2 separate regions of the Homo sapiens genome follow, and region 2 is linked to region 1. The links are contacts of gene promoters, found by promoter capture Hi-C in human tissues and cell types (Jung and others, 2019). All regions are on one chromosome and are shown on one strand. The core of a region is centred on a gene start or on the middle of the fragment in contact, and the rest is flanking DNA. Distances in the headings are between cores, read along the strand shown.

Region 1 (2,824 bases), core at 257-2,756:
GAGGGCAGGGATTGTGCCTGTTTTGTTCCCTGCTATATCCCCAGTTTCTAGAAGAGTGACTGGCATGTCCAATATCCATCTGTAAAATGAAGTGATGGAATGAGGGCCCTAAGGAAATATAACATGGTGAAACCCCATCTCTACTAAATACAAAAAATTAGCTGGGGCCGGGTGCAGTGGCTCACACCTGTAATCCCAGCACTTTGGGGGTCTGAGGCTGGTGGATCACCTGAGGTCAGGAGTTCAAGACCAGCCTGACCAACACGGTGAAACCCTGTCTCTACTAAAAATTCAAAAATTAGCCAGGCGTGGTGGTGGGCTCCTGTAATCCCAGCTACTCGGGGGAGGCTGAGGCACAAGAATCACTTGAACCCGGGAGGAGGAGGTTGCAGTGAGCCGAGATTATGCCATTGCACTCCAGCCTGGACAACAGAGCAAGACTCTATAAAAAAAAAATCGGCCTGGCGTGGTGGCGCACGCCTGTAATCCCAGCTACTTGGGAGGCTGAGGCAGAATTGCTTGAACCTGGAGGTTGCAGTGAGCTGAGATCGCGCCATTGCACTCCAGCCTTGGCAACAAGAGCGACGACACTCCGTCTCAAAAAAACAAAAAACAAAAACAAAAACAAAACAAGAGTTGAAATCAAGAAGGGAATCGTGCCTTGGACAAGAACAGGGGTGCCTCTTTCACTGCTCCTGATAAGAATGGATTCAGACATGTTTGTAGGTAGAAATTTAAGAATTCCCCTCTTGATTGCGTCTGATTTCTCTGGGAAATAGAAGAGAAGGAAGGACTTGAGGAGAGTAGCGATGGAGAGAGAGATCTATGGTGAAGATGGGAGGAGTTAACGGCAGCTGCAAGGGTTGATGGAGCAGCTGAAGTTGAAAACCTGGATTCGCCTTGGTACCCAGCTACCTGGTTGTGCGATTTTCCTCATCAACATCGGGGGAGTCGGGAGAAGGTTACATAAAAGGAATGGGAGCAGCAAAAATTCAAGTTTTGTCTCGGCTTTTTCTTGAAAAGACCAAAGAGAATTCTTTCATTGACTCAGTGCCTCCGTTTACCCACTCAGGCATTCATCACTAATCACTGGTCCCATGAAAGTAAAATGAGCGGAGAGTGTCTTTGACAGCAGAGAAAAAGAGAAGAGGCTGAGGAACAGGACCTCCCCCAGCCCAGTGAGAAGGGGAGTGGGGGACGTTTAGCCTTCCCTAAAAACTGAAAGTTGATACGCCCCAGGGCTCAAGTTCCGAGCCTTCTCCCATGACGCCTCTTCTTTCCCAATACCTTCCAGCTGCCCCGTCGTGTGACATTCCAGTCCACCTCTGTTCCTGCTCCACCCGCTCCAAACTCGCGTGCTTTTCCTCCACGTGGTTCTCTGTGTATATCGGTTGCCTGGGTGGCCCCAGCCGGAGGCCGGGCTCTAATGACGCCACAGTAGGAACAAGCCAATAGCCGTGACGCGACTCAGTGACGCGAGACGCGGGGTGTGGCTCTGCCGGCCCAGGCGCGATGAGGCGGCTGCCCGCTGGGTGGCGCCGATTTCCCGGGGAGGTCCCTTCTGGGCCCCCGGCGGAGGTGGGAGAGAGTCAGGCAGGAGCCGAGGCCGGGGAGCCCTCTTCGTCAGCTGGTGCTCACTGCGCCGCGCCAGCGCCAGCCGGGACTCACCCGCAGCTCCATGCTTGTGCCCGGTTCGACTCGTCCATACTCCAAGAAGAGGCAGGTACGTGCCACCTGTCGGGGATCCGGGAGGGGGGATTCGGGGATCAGTGCCGGTTTGGAGCTCAGAAAGTAAGGTGTCCACGACATTCTGGGCAGAGTGGACACTAGAAATATAGGGAGAGAGCCGGCTGTGCAGGGACGCTCCAGCTGTGTCTGCCAGTTGTGTGAGGGCTGCCTGCTGACAGCCCAGGGTGCCAGGAAGAGCCAACTGTGTGCTGATCAGTGTATTCTAAGGAAATGCTGCTTTGGCGGGTCCTCCTCGCTGTGCCCCGTGTATATCGGTGGTATGTGGCCTGAGCGACACTGACAAACCCCCTCCCCACGTGTGCGTGCAGCTCACTCGCTGCTCTTAAAGCTCCCCGGTCAGTTTGCTAAAGGGGGTTAGGGGCGGGGGTTGGGCAACAATTAAGCGGAAGGGGAGATTTTCCACCAATCCCAAACCAGAAAGAGGCAGCTTTGAAATTCTCACCAGTCCCAAACCAGAAGCAGGCACGCGGTGCTCCGGAGAGAGCAACTTCTCAACAGTCAAGGGAAGCCCTAGCCAACCCATTCTAGCCCTTCCCTGAAGAGTGAACATCCTACCTCCTGACCTGGCTGCCTTTAGAATGGGACTGAGCTGGAGGTAGTGGTAGGGGCTGCTCACCTCCCCTGGAATGGGCATGAGAACATCCCCCAGATGGACCCCCGTAAAGCAGAGGAAAGGAGAGCTGATTGGGCTAAGGTCGAGGCAGGCCCCCTCCTTTGATGCTGTAGATGCATGTCAGACTGGAGTCAGAATGAGGACTGGAATGAGGGCGTCCTCTGAAGTGCATCATTAGGACCTGGGCTGAGTCAGTAGCCTGTGCTAAGACAGGGTGGAGGCACCAGGCTGGGTACTCCCAGTCCTCGGGGAGAGCCATCGAGAAACGTCCTGGGAGCAGACAAGTGCACCAAGGCCAGAGAGGCTAAGAACCCCGTTCCTTCCTCTTGTGACCCTGCCCAGCCCGGCTCTGTGGCCCTGGAATCCTGAGCCCTCCCACAGGTAGAGTGGAACCACCCCAGAGGGGCCAAGCATTCTCCTGGTGGCCTGGGGGAAGCTGCACTTGCCGTATTTTTCTAGGCA
Region 2 (3,038 bases), core at 239-2,738, 810 kb before region 1:
GACGGATGAATGCAGCAGCTGAGACCTCCCAGGGGCAGGAGCAGGGGTGGCGGTGGAGGAGGGGAGCAGGCCAGGAGGGCCACTGCTTCAGCCCTAGCACATGGTTAGCCATGTTGCACCCAGTGACATGTTGTACCCAGTGACGCCTTGCACCCAATGACATGTTGGTGAGGATTACAAAGGCCTGGCCCTCTTGCCTTAATGTGGGATATCTCTGCAGAGCCCCAGAGTCCCCATGGGGTTGGCAAAGGCCTTGGTTGCAACTTCACAGCCAACATCCAACGTCCAATGTTTCCCCCAACCCAAGCCTGTTCTCTCCACTTCCCCTACAGGGGTTCATCCCCACAGCATTCCAATAAATGATGCAAAGCTCTCAGAGTCTCTTTGCTAGGAACCTGACTTAATATGGGAGGAGAAGGGAGCTAACTTCAATGGGATGCTTCTTTTTTTTTTTTTTTTTAAAGAAAGATGGTCTCATCTAATACAACACATCTGTGAACTAAGCATTTTTGCTATGTTACTGTTCAGAAAATGTTAAAGAAGTTGTCAAGACCAAATGGTATCTGGCAAAGCTGGGATTCTAGTGCAGGCCCACTCTGACTTTGAGAGCACAGGTTCTACTCTCTCCCCACTGTATAAAAGGTGGGGAGTCCCTGACCCTGACCTGTGGGGTCTAGGGTGGAAAGGAGCTGGCTGGCCAAGGACTTGCCTGTGGTGTTCGAGTAGGCATGTAAACACCCATGAGAAGAGTGTTCACACCTGGGGTGCAAATGGGGGGAGGCAGGAAGCAGGGAAGGGTGGCCACATGTGGCAACCTTTGCTGGCCAAGGAGGCAGAGGTGCCTCTGGTGGAAGAAGACCTTGGGATCGGCCAGCAGCAGCCGTGAGGCACATCTGAACCCTCTCCCCGCACAGGCCCCATACAGTGGGGACTGCTGGCTCTGAGCCTCCCTGGGGCACACAAAGAAGGTTTACCTTTGCCCAAGCTGGTTGGCAAGACCCAGGTCCCATCCTGTCCCAGTGAAGGGTGAGGACTCTGGACTTCTCTGGCTCTGTGTGCTCCCTCTGGTCCCAACACAGCGGAGGACTGGCCCCTGCCTGCCTCTGGGGCCGCTCTGGTGGTAGTCAAGGTGAGTTCAAGGTCAGCAGCATGCTGCCACAGCCGCAAGCCGGCCTCGTAGCTCCTCCCTCAGGCCCCAGCCCTGGAGCACTCTGGAGCCGATCATGGGAGGAGGATCTTTCCTGAACTTTGTCTCTGGAGGGCCCAAGCCAGTTCTACCGTTGGTGTGTCCATTTGCAGAGGGGCGCCTGGTACCAGTCCTCCCCTGAGGGGCAATGCCCCCGGAACTACAGCTGGGGAAGGGCAGCAGGTCTGGAAACAAGCCAAGAGCACCCCGTCTGGTGCCGGTGGACTTTCTTGCATGAATTGGCAGCTCCGTCAAGCTTTGGCATCAATTCCAAAAGTGGAGCATTGGGGCTTGTCCTGTCACCTGGAGATTCTGAGCACATATTTACAGTTTACAGAAGTAGAAACAAAAGTAACCCTTTTATCTCCTCAGAGGAAGCTGGCCCTTCCACTGAGTACAGGAGCCGGAGACAATGTAACCTTCCCTGAGAAGATACTCTTTGGGGTAGGAGGCAGCTGTCTAGACGTGGCACCACCGAATGCACCCTAGCAAATCAGGAAAATCTCTTTTTCCTTTTTTTTCTTTTTTTCTGAGACAGAGTCTTGCTCTGTCGCCCAGGCTGGAATGCAGTGGCGCGATCTCGGCTAACTGCAAGCTCCACCTCCCGGGTTCACACCATTCTCCTGCCTCAGCCTCCGGAGTAGCTGGGACTATAGGCGCCCGCCACCACGTCCGGCTAATTTTTTTGCATTTTTAGTAGAGACGAGGTTTACACCGTGTTAGCCAGGATGGTCTCGATCTCCTGACCTCGTGATCCTCTCGTCTCGGCCTCCCAAAGTGCTGGGATTACAGGCATGAGCCACCGTGCCCGGCCATCTCTTTTTCCTTAAAATGCTCAACTGGTGTGTGCAGAACTCCCCCTTGCCTCAGCAACTGGGAGGAGTGCCTTGAAATGGCAGCGTGGGTCAGGAGCTGGGGCTCTGGGTCTAAGTGCCAGGTCGGCCATCTGCAGGAAGGAGCAGCAGCAAGATTCTCTACTGAGCTGGGCCCTGCTTTCCTCACCCGGTGGGGAATGTCTTTCAGCTGCGGGAGGTTATTTGTGACTGCCATCTTTTTCTCTTCTCTTCTTTTTTTTCAAAAAAAAAAAAAAAATCTTTGTGAGAAAAACCCCACCGTTCCACTTGTTTTCTCCGAGCCGTTTTGTTAGTTGAGGTGTTTGCATGCTGAGCAACACACACTAATATTTTCCTCCTCGTCAAAACATTAATTATCCCACCCAGGAACCTTTCTCTTGGATGTTTTTTCTTTACCACCCCTTAAGCTGTTGGGCACCAAGCGATTCCTGTATTTCCCATCATCTCAGCAAGCTGACTGTGATGTTTAAGGAGAGAGAGGCCCCCTTGGCTGGGTGCGGACCCTCCTTTGTGCTCTGTGGCACCCAGTAGTCAGGATGCAGTACTCAGGAGAGCTCCTGTCCCCCTGCTTCTCACTCTATGTGCGAACCATCTGTTTACATCTCTTGTCGTCTCCCACGAGGCTGTGAACGTCCTCATGTCTGTATTCCCGACACCCAGGACAGTGCCTGGCACAGAATAGTGGCCCTACAAATGTTTGCTGCACAAGCACATAAATGAATGAAAATGAAGATAGAATAATAAACACGCAGTAGGAGGAGTCAGGGTTCAAATCAGCCCCCCTGGTTGGGCCCCGCCCCCCAGCCTCCATCTCTTGCCTGTTCATAGAGGGAGCAGTTGTAAGCACAAGTTGGGTCCTTTGCTCTCCCTAGCACTTGGGAAGCCCCATCCTCTCTCCCTGCTTGAGGCCATTCTCAGCTGCCAGACAGCCAGTGTGTTCAGGGGGAGCCCAGTTTCCTCCTCCCTGGTCTCCCCTTGGTTGAGAGTAAGATGGGACA

Evidence for each region. Contacts are between HindIII fragments. The study calls those that stand out against the background at their distance.
Region 2: a fragment that was not itself captured here is called in contact with the fragment with the promoter of USP2 in region 1 in 1 of the 25 tissues and cell types used here (dorsolateral prefrontal cortex).

The regions. Positions count from the first base shown.
Region 1 is chr11:119,380,372-119,383,195 of GRCh38, reverse strand. It overlaps USP2 (ubiquitin specific peptidase 2), which reads left to right and starts at 1,506. Exons shown (of 13, transcript NM_004205.5): 1 at 1,506-1,723. USP2-AS1 (USP2 antisense RNA 1) reads right to left here and starts at 1,418. Exons shown (of 4, transcript NR_034160.1): 1 at 1,288-1,418. RefSeq lists an enhancer at 1,439-2,428. The HindIII fragment of the contact is 18,363 bases long and covers 1-2,824 here.
Region 2 is chr11:120,191,384-120,194,421 of GRCh38, reverse strand. No RefSeq gene overlaps it. Among named protein-coding and RNA genes, the nearest start is that of OAF, 18 kb to the left of the region's middle. The HindIII fragment of the contact is 5,099 bases long and covers 1-3,038 here.